3 separate regions of the Homo sapiens genome follow, and regions 1 and 3 are each linked to region 2. Evidence: promoter capture Hi-C in human tissues and cell types (Jung and others, 2019). All regions are on one chromosome and are shown on one strand. Each heading gives the region's core, a stretch centred on a gene start or on the middle of the fragment in contact. The rest is flanking DNA. Distances are from core to core; before and after follow the strand shown. Region 1 overlaps KDM5B (lysine demethylase 5B). Region 2 holds the start of KLHL12 (kelch like family member 12). Region 3 overlaps SYT2 (synaptotagmin 2).

Region 1 (4,634 bases), core at 916-3,415, 180 kb after region 2:
AGAGACAATTGACTTGTATATTGACCTTGTCTCCTGAGACCTTGCTAAAGTCACTTAATTCCCAGTAGCTTTTTCATGGATTCTTTTAGAATAATAATATCTGCAAATAGTAATACTGTTTTTTTTTTTTTTTTTAAAAATATGTGCCTTTTTGGGTAGAATCCTGGAATATTGGCTCTCTGCAGCCCATTTACATTTTAACAGCAGGTTACCTACCTTACCCTCTTATATTTTACAGTTGGGGGAAAATAGTGCCCAGAGGGTTTAAGTAACTTACCAAAGTCTTACATCAAAAATGGTAGCTCATTTTTAGAACTCTGAGACTTTTTCCATATATGGAATTTACAAATTAAAATTAGGTATGAACTACATGATTGATTCTCAATTAAAATCCATGGAGTTGGTCCTTAATCTTATTTTAAACAAAAATGTTAACTTTCTCCATCCCATGAAGTCCTTTTTAATGACCAATTCAAGAATAAAACCAAAATCTAATTAGCATTTTCCTTACCTTCCTCATCTTTGTTGGCCCATATAATTGGCAGATATGAAATAGTTAAAAGGTTAAAATACAGGATAACAGAATAAAAGAAAGAAGCCCAGTAGTTCATAAACGACTGGCATTCTCAAGGCTGGATTAGGATCCAGTTTTAGATAGGGAGAAAAGGTGATAGAAGTTTGGTCTTTAAATGACAAAAGGTGTATCCAAGAAGGGTTCTCTAGATGTTAGGTGGTACAGATTATGTTGAAATTTACTGGTTCAAGACCTTATTTTTCCTGACAGTCTTTTAGGAGGAAATGTTTAATTATGACTTTAGTCTTTGCTATTGCACAAATTTTCTAACTATTCAGTTAATGATATCCTTTCATATAACTTCCTGTAAAAGGCTGAGAGACCACTCAGCATCTTCCCAAACTCAATTTCTGCACGATAGTCTTTTCCACTCGTCCCATCTTCTTTCCTTTTATTTTTGTCCTTTTAATAGATTCTCCATATTTCCTCAGAAGTAGGAAACATATTCCTTTCTTTTAATCTTATCTATACCTCTTATCTATACCCAAAATGTGGACAAGGCTAATTTGTAGTAGAACAGATAACTAATCTCAGTAGTTTTACAGTCCTATGGTGTTCATACTCAGATCAAAATGACCAAACATAAGGACCTGCCTTGTCTGAAAAAGGAGATCTCCCTAGACAAATGAACTTGCCTGTATTTGCTAGGTCATTTGTTTCTTTGTATGCCACACATTTTTAATCATGCATCCCTATTTTGGTAAAGCTTTTTTTTTTTTTTCAGACTCAAGTACTACTGCATGTTTGTCTTGGGCTGGTGGATTATATTATCCTTTGGAGGTCTCTCTAAAGTATACTTTATTCTAGGGAGTGATTGATTCGGAAAGAATGGATTTTGAGCTGTTGCCAGATGATGAACGTCAGTGTGTAAAATGCAAAACTACATGCTTCATGTCTGCCATCTCCTGTTCTTGTAAACCTGGCCTTCTTGTTTGCCTGCATCATGTAAAAGAATTGTGTTCCTGTCCTCCTTACAAATATAAATTGCGGTAAGTAGGAAGAACGATTTTTTTTCCTATGGAAAACAGTTGATCCTTACTAAAAGCTCAATGATACCGCAGTTCTAGGGCTGAAATGTTAAGTATAAAACATCTAGTTTTCTCCAAAGCTACACGTCTCAAAGCTAAGTGTGGTGGTATTATTTCCAGGTATAGGTACACGCTGGATGATCTCTACCCTATGATGAATGCATTGAAGCTTCGAGCAGAATCTTACAACGAATGGGCCTTGAATGTGAATGAAGCTTTGGAGGCAAAGATCAACAAGAAGAAAAGTATGTGATACAGAAAGTGACTTGGTGATTGGCAAATTGGGGCTTATTGTGATGTAGCCAAATTAAAGTCAACAAAACATTTCTTGAAACAGCCTGACCTCATCCTTGGTTAGCCCCTCTACATAGCCCGGTTTACAGAGCACCGGCAGAGAAGGTTTTAAAACCAAGAGTGGATAAGGCAGTTGCCCTTACATCCCAGTGAAATTTTGTTATATGAGTTGTGCAACATCACTTACTTAACAAAAACGATATTGTTAGGAAACCTTTATTTTTGTCTCAGAAATAAAAATTTCACATTTCTTACAAAGATGTTGAAATCTTTAAAAAAACAAAAACAAAAACAAAGCATCTTGTGACAAAGGCAGCATGACACTAAATCAGGAGTCTCTGAAATGGTAGTTTATCACTTCTTAGTTCTAATTAAAGTTAAGGTCCCTGGCACTTGTCATTACCTTTGAAAGTCACTGCTACCCTTTATATCTCTCTCTCTCTTTTTTCTTATGAAAATATAGTTTGTTTTTTGCTTTTTACTTTTCACCTCAGGGGTATATGTGCAAGCTTGTTACATAGATAAACTTGTGTCATGGGCGTTTGTTGTACAGATTATTTCATCATCCAGGTATTAAGCTTAGTACCCATTAGTTATTTTTCTGGAGCCTCTCCCTCCTCCTGCCCTCCACCCTCCAATAGGCTCCATTGTGTGTTGTTCCCCTGTATGTGTTCACGTGTTACTCCCCTGTATGCATCCATGTGTTTTCATCATTTAGCTCCCACTTAATAAGTGAGAATATGCAGTATTTGCTTTCCTGTTCCTAGTGTTAGTTTGCTAACTAATTGCCTCCAGTTCCATCCATGTTCCTGCAAAGGACACGAGCTCATTCTTTTTTATGGCTGCATAGTATTCCATGGTGTATATGTACCACATTTTTCTTTATCCAGTCTATCATTGATGGGTATTTAGGTTGATTCTATGTCTTTGCTATTGTGAATAGTGTTGCAGTGAACATACACATGCATGTGTCTTTATAAATGGAATGATGTATATTCCTTTGGGTATATACCCAGTAATGGCATTGCTCGGTCAAATGGTATTTCAGTCTTTAGATCTTTGAAGAATCACCACACTGTCTTCCACAATCGTTGAACTAATTTACACTTCTACCAACAGTGTATATGCGTTCCCTTTTCTCCACAACCTTGCCAGCATGTTACTTTTTGACTTTTTAATAATAGCCATTCTGACTGGTATGAGGTGATATCTCATTGTGGTGTTTTTTTTGTTTGTTTTTGTTTTTGTTTTGAGACGGAGTCTTGCTCTGTCACCCAGACTGGAGTGCAGTGGTGCGATCTCGGCTCACTGCAACCTCCACCTCCTGGGTTCAAGCAATTCTCCTGCCTCAGCCTCCTGTGTAGCTGGGACTACAGGCACGTGCCAACATGCCCAGCTAATTTTTGTATTTTTAGTAGAGACAGGATTTCACCATGTTAGTCAGGCTGGCCTTGAACTCCTGACCTTGTGATCTGCCTGCCTCGGCCTCCCAAAGTACTGGGATTACAGGCGTGAGCCACTGCGCCCGGCCTTTCATTGTAGTTTTGATTTGCATTTCTCTAATGATCAGTGATGTTGAGCTTTTTTTCATATGATTGTTGGCCATACGTATGTCTTCTTTTGAAAAGTATCTTTTCATATCCTTTGCCTACTTTTTAATGTTTTTTTCTTGTAAATTTGTTTTAAGTTCCTTATATATGCTGGATATTAGACCTTTGTCAGATGCACAGTTTGCAAGTATTTTCTCCCATTCTGTAGGTTGTCTATTCACTCTGATGATAGTTTCTTTTGCTGTGCAGAAGCTCTTTAATTAGATCCCATTTGTCAGTTTTTGCTTTTGTTGAAGTTGCTTTTGGCATCTTCATGAAATCTTTGCCTGTGCCTATGTCCTGACAGGTATTGCCTAGGTTGTCATCCAGGGTTTTTATATTTTTGGGTTTTACATTTAAGTCTTTCATTCCTCTTGAGTTAATTTTTGTATATGGTGTAAGGAAGGGGTCCAGTTTTAATCTTCTGCATATGGCTAGCTGTTATTCCAGCACCATTTATTGAATAGGGAATCCTTTCTCCATTGCTTGTTTTTGTTAGATTAGTTGAAGATCAGATAGTTGTAGGTGTGCCTTTTTATTTCTGGGTTCTCTATTCTGTTCTGTTAGTCTGTGTGTCTGTTTTTGTACCAGTCCATTTCTCTTTCAGAGTGTTTTCACTTGCTTCCATTTCTGTAGCCCAACACGTAACTCCACCCGCTTTTATTTAGGGGAAAGGAGCAATATCATTGTCTCTGAGTCTCCTGTGCTCTAGTAACTGAGCACACTAGTTACTCACTAACTGCAGAATAAAATGCAGGAGGAAGAAGTGGTTCAAGCCACAATAAGATTTATATTTACTTTGCTTTCATAAGTCAGTTGTTTTCTTCTTTTTGTCTATTTTAAACATGCCAGGTGTTTTTTTTTTTTTTTTTTTTTTTTTTTTGAGACAAGGTCTTGCTCTGTCATCTCAACTGGAGTGCAGTGGCATGGTCGTGGCTCACCGCAGCCTTGAAATCCTGGGTTTAAGTAATCCTCCTGCTTTAGTTTGTCAAATAGTTGGGACTACAGTTGTGTGCCACCATGGCTGGCTAAGTTCTTTAATTTTGTAGAGAGGAGATCTTGCTTGTGTTGACCAGGCTGGTGTTAAACTCCTGGCCTCAAGTGATCTTCCTGCCTTGGCCTTGCAAATTGCTGGGATTTACAGGCGTG
Region 2 (4,408 bases), core at 166-2,665:
GCCCATTATGATGCAGAGTATATACTGAGGTCTGTGGATCCTAAGGCTCAGAGGATTCTCGCCGCAGCGTTGTTCGGCCCGAAAAGGCCATTGTGGACAATGGACGTGAATAAATTTGAGGCCTCTGTGGGTTTTCTCGATGTCAAAAAGTTCCTCAGTACCTGGAAGGTAAAACATACTTGCTGCAATCAGATGCTTGGCATATTAAGCGTTGGAATTCTCTCTGCCTGCCCTGCCTAGTGAGCGGTAGGGAGGAACTCAGGCTCAGCCAATCGCCGAGCTGTAGATACATTCCCAGGCTCCCTGCCGGACCCCACAACATCCAGCCTTTTTTTTGTTTTTTCTTTTTTTTCTTTTTTCTTTTTTTTTTTTTTGAGACGGAGTCTTGCTCTGTCGCCCAGGCTGGAGTACAGTGGCGCGATCTCAGCTCACTGCAACCTCCGCCTCCCGGGTTCACGCCATTCTCCTGCCTCAGCTTCCCGAGTAGCTGGGACTACTGGCGCCCGCCACTACGCCCAGCCAATTTTTTTGTATTTTTAGTGGAGACGGGGTTTCACCGTGTTAGCCAGAATCGATCTCCTGACCTCGTGATCCACCCGTCTCGGCCTCCCAAAGTGCTGGGATTACAGGCGTGAGCCACCTCGCCTGGCCTTTTTTTTTTTTTTTTAAGAGACAGAGTCTCAGTCGGTCGCCCAGCCCGGAGTGCAATGGCGCGATCTCGGCTCAGCAACCTCCGCCTCCCAGGTTCTAGCGATTCTCCTGCATTAGCCTCCTGAGTAGTTGGGATTACAGGCGCGTGCCACAACGCCCGGCTAATTTTTTTGTATTTTCAGTAGAGATAGGGTTTCACCATGTTGGCCAGGCTGGTCTCGAACTCCTGACCTCAAGTAATACACCCGCCTCGGCCTCCCAAAGTGCCGGGATTACAGGCGTGAGCCACCACGCCTGGACATTTTTTTTTTTTTTTTTTTTTTACAGGGTCTCATTCTGTGGCCCAGGCTGGAGTGCAGTGGCGATCCTGGCTCACTGCAACCTCTGCTGCCTGGCTCAAGTGATCCTCCTGTCAGCCTCTCGAGTAGCTGGGACTACAGGCGCGGTGCGGGCTAATTTTTTTTTTTTTTTTTTTTTTGTAGAAACGGGGTTTTGCCGTGATCCCCAGGCGGGTCTGGAACTCCGGAGCTCAGGTAATTCGCTCGCCTCGGCCTGCCAAAGTGCCGGGATTATAGGCGTGAGCCACCATTCCCTGCCCACCCGACCTTTTTGTAATTCGGCTTCCTAGCAGCGTACAGAAGCCCCGCGCTAGGGTACAGACAGGTCACGTGACACCACCTCCTCACGTGACGCAGACTCTGGAGCGGGGGGAGGGCGGTGCTCCAGCTGCATTGCGTCATCACGTCGCGCGGCCGCAGGGGCCAGACCCGGACGGCTCCAGAGCCTCCAGAGCCTCCGGGTCTGGGCGGCGCTTCGGCTCCTCCCGAGCCGCCTGCTAGCCCCGCGCCGCACTCCATCCCCACAGGCTGGGGACGGGCCCGGTGCGGCTGTGTGGGTTCGGGAGCGGAGGTGAGTTGCGCGGAAGTGATGGCAGTCAGCCCTTCCCTTCCTGTCCGTCAACTCCGGGTTATGGCCCTACCCCCCATCCTTGGTCTCCCTGCAAGGCGGAATGGGAGACATGCCCAACAGAGGAGGAAGGCTGGCAGTGGGGTGGGGCATCTGGCCTCGGTCACCCTCTCAACTCTCCCCCTGAACTGCCCCTCTCCGATACCTCCACCTGGCGGTGGCGGCCATATGCCTGGTGGTATTAGGAGGAAGGACTTCGTTTCCTTCTCTAGAATTTAGTCTTTCCCGAGTTTACTACCCATTCCCTGCCCCGAATCTCCCGAAGTGGAATCCCTCCATTCAGATGTTAACGAAAGTTCTAGAAAATAGGTCACTTCAGAAGGGTGAGGATGAAGGATATGCTGAGACTTGGAGTGTTGAGGCAGGAATCCCCTAGAAGGAAGACCACTCTGCACCGGGGTACTGTCATTTTGACACGGAAACGATAAAAGACCCCCCGGGCTGTCTTCATAGTAAATGGACATTTGTTCTAGACCTTTTTACACCCCTAGAGTTGCAACTAAGTTGACTTAAGTCTTTTTGAAAAACATATGCTTTGATGAATCACCCGCTTTTCTGTAAAATGGGTCTTGCAGAGTTGTTGGAGGAATTATCTATAGTGCTTATAGAGTAAAATGCCAACTACAAACAGAAGTAGATGAGAATTTAGGATCTCATTTTTCCTGTTGAAAGATTAATTGTGACTTGTGGACTTTTGGAGACCACAGTTTGATTTCCTTCCCCCCGGATCATTTCAGAAAGTTTTGGATTCCAATATCGATTCTTTAACAGTAATGGACATTCACAGATGTAGAGTAGGAATACCCTCTTGTTGAAGAGCTTCAATATCTTAAGCAAGTGTAAGTCCATCGATAACTTGCGTGGTTTCCATTATTCAGTGTAGGTAATGGGTCCTCAATTGAAGTTTCTTTTTTTTTTTTTTTTTTTGAGACAGAGTCTCGCTCTGTTGCCCAGGCTGGAGTGCAGTGGTGTGATCTCGGCTCACTGCAACCTCCACCTCCTGGGTTCAAGTGATTCTCGGGCCTCAGCCTTCTTGGTAGCTAGGATTATAGGCGCGCATCACCACGCCTGGCTATTTTTTGTATTTTTAGTAGAGACTAGGTTTCACCATGTTGGCCAGGCTGCTCTCAAACTCCTGACCTCAACTGATCACCCACCTCAGCCTCCTAAAGTGCTGGGATTACAGGAGTGAGCTGTTGGGCCCGGCCTGAAGTTTCATTTTAAGAAGAAATCCAGATATGTTTGGAAGTCATCAGACATATCATTTGGATACTTCTTTAGAAAAAAGTTTATTTTTACTGAGTGGCCTTTCTTGCTCTAAGTTGAAGTTGAATACACACTTTTTCTTACATTAAATTCTAAACATTTATTGTGCAACTTCTAGGATAGAAAGCATACATATAAAGCAGGATCCTCTTTTTATGTATGCTCTAAATACTTATCTACTTAAGGACATTAAATAGTAATAATATAACACCTTTAAGAAATTTTATATTTTCGGTTTATCATTTGAGACAAGAACCTTGTCAAGATTTACAAGACATATATTGTTTATCTCTACTTACATTTCAGCATTGATCATATTAAATGTCAAGTGGTAGGGACACTCCGTGATAGAGGAATTCAGAGGAAGAAGAGAGAGCTTTTACATGGACTAGATAGTGGCTAGTGGTTGGTGGTGATGCCAGGCATAGGAGTGCCCTCAACTTGTGTATGTTTGGGTCTGAGGAAGCCTCTTAGGTTCTTAATTTGTAAAGCTAATTAAATATGTTCAGTTGCCCTAGTTCTTTGAATATGCTCATTGTTTTTTTTTCCCTCTTGTAGTTGCAGAATCCAAGGACCCATTTTGTTCTTTCTCCGCACTGCTTTATGGGAGGCATTATGGCCCCCAAAGACATAATGACAAATACTCATGCTAAATCCATCCTCAATTCAATGAACTCCCTCAGGAAGAGCAATACCCTCTGTGATGTGACATTGAGAGTAGAGCAGAAAGACTTCCCTGCCCATCGGATTGTGCTGGCTGCCTGTAGTGATTACTTCTGTGCCATGTTCACTAGTGAGGTAAGTGGTAAATTAGCCCCACACAAATGAAACCCGTGGAACTCTAGTTGTCTAATTTCACTGAATAAAATAGTGGAAGTTTGATATAATTTTGAATTTTTACAGTGTGATGTTTTGGCAGATTCTGGATAAGATCTACCACTTAGATGACTATGCCTTAGTTTCCTCATCTTTAAGTTAGGGATAATAGTAATATGTAACACATGGTTATTAAGGTTGTTGTGAAGATTATTTTATGAAATAACATAGGAAGTGCTTAGAATAGTGTAATATGTAGTAAAACACACATGTCAGCTATTGGATTTTACTATTTCTTAAATTTGTCTTCCAATTTTTCTCCTTTTTTTGTTTTTAATTTTATTTATTTATTTGTAGAGACAGGGTCTCACTATGTTGCCCACGCTGGTCTTGAACTCCTGGGCTCAAGCAATCCTCCTGCCTTGGCCTCCCAGAGTGGCCACACCTGGCATTACAGGTGTGAGCCACGGCATCCAGCCTTTTTTCCTTCTAAAGTTTAAAAATTTTTAAGTGAATACCAGAGGGATAAGGAGGAAGGAAGGAGAGAGGAGTAGGATTCAAACCACATCCCACTCCTCCTAACAATATGTGAAGAAAATCAGTGTAAATTTTAGGATAACTTCAAATGAAAGGAAGAAGAGTTTTTAATGAATAGCTGTACAGGCGTTGAGTGTATAACCTGAGAAAGGATGTTAACTCATAAGCACTT
Region 3 (4,934 bases), core at 1,909-4,408, 220 kb after region 2:
TTGGGGGAGTTTGGAAGCGTCCGGATGGAAGGTTCGTCTCGGGGAGTCGGACCCGAGGGGCGAGGAGCCGGCTCCTCTGAGGGACTGGGGCTGGGCTGGGGGCAGATTTCCTCCCGCGGGTTGCTGCAGAGAGGGGCGGGCCACGCGTCCCCTGCACCGGCCGGCTCTGCGCCCCCGTCCCTCTCTCCTTTCCCTGGGACGAACCCACTCGCGTCTAGCCCAGCCCCCGCCAGCCCTAGCGGTCTCCAAGGAAGGTTCTTTTGCCCCAGTCTCAAGCTTCGGGGACCCCTGGCACCGCCGTCGTGGGAAGTGGGGCGGGGGGTGGGGTCTGGGCGCTGGGAGCCGGAGACCCTGGGTCAGGGAGAGGTTGGGGAGACAGACTGCAGGGGCCATCTGGAAGCAACGGGCACGAGGAGCTGGGGCAGGGGCCCAAGAAGGGGCTGGAGGCGCCCCTCCCCTCTCTCCAAATCTCATGACTCAGCACGACCTAGGACGCCCCGTCCCTGCTTCAGCTCTGTCCCCAAGGGCTAGGCTCGCAGCCTGGCGGGTGCTGACAGCCCGACTCCCTTTTCTGGACTCTTCCATGTACCTTTCCCATTTGGGGTGCCCCCTTCCCCTGCCTATGCTCCTTCCCCCACCTCTGGGGCACAGGGCTTTTATTTTTCAACTAAAAAGTGGAGCTTTATCGTTTCACATCCCACTAAGCCAGGCCCCCTCATCCTGTCTCCTCCCTTTTCATCCCCACATTCCACAGGTGCCTCCAGGACACCCCCAGCCCATGGCTCGTGGGGTGTCTCCTGGCAGGGCAGTGTCCTCCCTTACCCCTGGCTGAGGTGGCAGAGTAGGTGCTCTCCCCGCAGCAGGAGAAGGGAGTGCAAGGACAGAAGAGGTGCTGGCCCAGGAGGGGCCACTGCAGTGGGGAGGGAAGGGCAGAGGCCCCGTGGGCAGGTAGTACAGGTTGAGTTAGCTTATAAGGAGGAGGAAGTCCTTAGGATCTGGGGGCGCCCAGGAAGCCAGAAAGGTGAACTGGGGTCTGACCTGGAAAGCAAAAGGGTGCCCTTCTCCCTCCCCTACTGCTGCCGCCCTGCGGGGCCTCTCCCAGGTGGAATAGATTGTCCTCCATCCAATCTGTCTGGATCCCCATAACCTGGCACTTCATTAGAGGGGGTGACAGAAGCAGGGAAGCCCTTAATCCTTTCAACCATCTCTCCCTACTTAAGACTAAGTCCAGCTTTGGGGCTGCTAGAAACATCTCTGTGACCAGCAGAGGTGCTGAAAAAAGCCATGCCCAGTGCCCCAAAGGCGGGCCCGAGTGGCAGGTGGAAGGGGGCAGGGTGGCTCTGATGCAGTGGGACGTGCCTGGCATCCTGGTCCTGTGGAATGAGAGTGGTGGTCTGGCAGGCACTGCAAGCTGCAGCGTGTGTCAGGGCCCTGGGGGTGAGTCAGCGTCAGGGGTCCACGCCAGGCACACTGCAGCCTAGGGAGTCCAACTCCAACCCATCTCCTCCCATGCCCCTGGAAAATGGCCAGTGCCCACTGAACCCCGACTGAACCACCTTTCCCTCAGGGTGGCTGCCTCTGCTCTGCTTGGCTGCCAGGCAGATCCCTGGCTTCACCCTCTAGGACTCCCCCCAGAGGCTTGGCTTTTTCTGGAGATCTTTTGGGCTTAATCCTTACCTTCTCCCCTCCTTGTCTTGCCAAAGGAGGAGGAGAGGGAGGCAGAGGAAAGTTTCTAGGTTATAGCCTCACATAGACCTGGCCCACCATTCCCTGGAGGAAGAGAGACCAGACCACTCTGCTGGGAGTCTGCTTTGTTCTGCAGTCCAGGAGCTTGGTCCAGGGAACTTGGGTTTTCTTTTGGGGGAAGGGGGTGATTATGCAGGAACATTTCTTTTTCAGCTTTGGGGTCTGACATCCGCAGAACAGGACCAGGGGAAGCAAAAAGTGTTGGTGTTCGTAAACATTGACTTTTCACCTAGAGAAGCTTGCAACTGGCTTCAATTTAGGACTGAAGCTGGTTTCACCTGGGCAAAGCATGTACCTTGCTGAAGACCTCGCAGGGCCGAGGAGACCCTTTCTGGAGCTGGGTCTGGGCTCACCTGCCCTCACATTGCAGCTGGAGCTCGTTTTATTCCTTCTACCCTTAGGCAGCTTCCAGGCAGGTGTGACAGGGCTGTCTATGATACTGCAGAGACCTGGGGGTGGGCTTTGGAGGTGGCTGGAGAAGCCTCTTCCTTGCCCTTCTCAAGCCCTGGGGACCAGGCTACCCCAGTGTTCCCCAGCCCCTAGGCAAGCCTGACCTCTAGTCATTCTTTCTGCCTCCATCTGAACATTATCATATCTCAATGGGGTCTCCTTTTTCTTCCCCGCCAGGCCTGTGCCGCCCTCTCAGGGGAGAGTAGATAGAGGGGCAGTGAGTGCACTGGAAGCAGGGGGACAGAAGGCAGTGAGGACAGAGTGGGAGGAGGTTGGGCTTCATTTGCCTGGAAGAATGACCATCATTCCCTTCCCTGGACAGAAGCATCCTCGTGGAGGACTTAAGGCTGCAGATGAGTAGAAACACTACTTCACTTGGCTTTGGGATTTGCTCTGTGGACTTCCCCAGTCTAGGCAGGTCCTAGCTGAAGCCAGAGTATCCCCACCACTGAAGGTCCAGGGTGGTGGGGATACTCTTTAAGAACTGGAACAGCAAGTCAGAGGGAGTAATGGGGGGGCAGGGTCACTCAGTGCAGTGGTTAAATATGAAGCACCAAAGAATGGAGGCTAGGAGATAGACAGGCCTGGGTTCAAATCCCAGGGCTGCTAAGTACAAAGTCTGACATTTGCAACAAGTATTTTATTAGTGAGTACCTACCATGTGCCACTATTGTAGTCTCTCTGGGTGGGGAGGTGAGCACAGCCGCAGGCCCTACACATGTTACTGAGCCACTCAGCATCCCTTCTGCATTCGTTCCACTATTGCATTTTGAGAATCTGTGCTAGGCAATGGAGATTCAGGTGGGAACAAAACAGACCTGTTTCCTGCCCTCGTGGCATTTACAATCTAGTGAATACCACACAATTAGATAATTACATAAAGAATTCATCATGACTGTGCCAAGAGTTATGAAGGTATGTAGGAAGCTTCGAGAGCATGTAACAGGATGATCTGACAATGTCTGCACAGTTTTCTCTAAAGAACAGAGGTAATAATGCTTAACTCTCAGGGTAGTATTGTAGAACTGATAACTATTCGTGTTATTTTAGAAGTAGCCCCTGGACCACCAGACAGATGCAGTTCTAAATTCCCTACGTGAATAATCCATCCATAGGCAACAAGTTGATTCTTCATCTTCCACTCAGTCAGAGAAGCCAGGCCAGAGAAGCTGGGATTCAGTTATGGCTTCTCCTGGACTCCAGAAGCCTGTGATAAATAATATAGTTTCATTGGAGAAACATCAAGTCAGAGATTTTTTTCTAAGTGGCAGTATAGTGACTACAGCCAGATTGCCAGGGTTCATCCTGGTTCTGCCACTTGCTGTGATTTTGGGCGAGTCAATCACACTCTGTTTTTTAGTCTTGCCATCTGTAGAATGGAGCTAAAATTTGTAACTATGACGTAGATTGTTCTTGGTGAGGATGAAATGGGTTAATTCCTGTAAAGCGTGTAGAACAGTGCCTGGCGCGGGAGGAGTAAGTGCTTTTCATCCTTGGGTGGCCTGCGTGCTCCTTTTCCTGCCCACACACACAACACTGTCTTGGGTTCTCCAGCTGCAGGGAGCACTGTCCACCTTTGATATTCTTAAAACTCAAGGGAAGGAGTTGCCCTCACCGTCTTGGTGGTCAGTCCTGCATTTCATCCCCCTCACTCGAAGACGGTTTTTATGCCTAATGAGTCTTTTCTTGCCAAAGCTTGATTTCTGGGAAGGATTTGTCCCAGCAATCCTTCATTTTCATCTCTGGAACTGACAGTTCAAGGAAGTAGCCAGAGTGATGGGTAAATTTGGATCCAGGCCCAGAGGGACCTGAGAGTCACTGTGAGCCTGGAGGGCAGGGGAACACCTAGCTGCCAGCCCCCTCCCCTAGAGAGGCTGGGTCTAAAATTAAACATCCAGAAGGACTCCCCAGGCCAGGTGCAGTGGCTCACACCTGTAATCCCAGCGCTTTGGGAGGCTGAGGTAGAAGGATCGCTTGAGCCCAGGAATTCCAGAGCAGGCTGGGCAACATATGGAGACCCTGTCTCTACAAAAAATTTAAAAATTAGCTGGGCATGGTGGCACACCAGGTTAAGCAGGAGGATCGCCTGAGCCCAGGAGGTCGAGACTGCAGTGAGCTATGGTCATGCCACTTCACTTCAGCCTGGAAAACAGTGAGATCCGGTCTCAAAAAAAAAAAAAGGACTCCCAAAATCCAAGATGAGCAGTAGATATTGTAGAAGCTTCCTCCCTGGATCATTTTCTGATGAGGATAAAGTCCCTGCTGGCTGAGTGCCAGGGAGGAGGTTAGATTCTGAAAGCCCCTCACACTTAGGGAAGTAGGATGTGAGTAGCAGGGTCCATTAAAATGGCCAAGCAGCCTCCAAATCTGAAAGAAAGGGGGGTTACCTGCTGCTGTAAAGTCAGGAGAGGCCCTTCCTTGGTCACTTTAGCCGGGGACCTCAGGATTTCAGCTTTTGCTGTCAGTAACACTAAGCATCAGGCATAAGAAAGGGCAAAGTCAGTGTGGGTCCCGCACAACAGGGAACCTCAGGGCTCCTCCCTGCGCCTCCTGCTCCCCTGCTCGGGGATAGAGCGGCTCACAAGGGCGGTCAAGCTCTCATCACTGCAGTCCTCGGCTACGCCATCGCTGTCCCCACTTTACAATGAACGGGCAAAGGCCCAGAGAAGTTGTGTGGTTCAAAATCCCCAGAGAAGTTGTGTGGTTGTTCAAAATCCCCAGATCATAGGCACTTTGCA

What was found. The method cuts DNA at HindIII sites, captures the fragments that hold promoters and counts their contacts. A contact is called where the count stands out against the background at its distance.
Region 1: a fragment that was not itself captured here is called in contact with the fragment with the promoter of KLHL12 in region 2 in 2 of the 25 tissues and cell types used here (IMR-90 fibroblasts and aorta).
Region 3: a fragment that was not itself captured here is called in contact with the fragment with the promoter of KLHL12 in region 2 in 2 of the 25 tissues and cell types used here (aorta and mesendoderm cells).

What each region holds. Positions count from the first base shown.
Region 1 is chr1:202,743,071-202,747,704 of GRCh38, reverse strand. It overlaps KDM5B (lysine demethylase 5B), which reads left to right. Exons shown (of 27, transcript NM_006618.5): 15 at 1,382-1,563; 16 at 1,723-1,847. Among named protein-coding and RNA genes, the nearest start is that of SYT2, 35 kb to the right of the region's middle. The HindIII fragment of the contact is 4,315 bases long and covers 8-4,322 here.
Region 2 is chr1:202,924,241-202,928,648 of GRCh38, reverse strand. KLHL12 (kelch like family member 12) reads left to right here and starts at 1,415. Exons shown (of 12, transcript NM_021633.4): 1 at 1,415-1,560; 2 at 3,442-3,681. The coding sequence starts at 3,487. RefSeq lists enhancers at 1-146, 1,223-1,272. The HindIII fragment of the contact is 17,641 bases long and covers 1-4,408 here.
Region 3 is chr1:202,705,165-202,710,098 of GRCh38, reverse strand. All of the region lies in intron 1 of SYT2 (synaptotagmin 2), which reads left to right. Among named protein-coding and RNA genes, the nearest start is that of SYT2, 2.8 kb to the left of the region's middle. The HindIII fragment of the contact is 4,055 bases long and covers 1,131-4,934 here.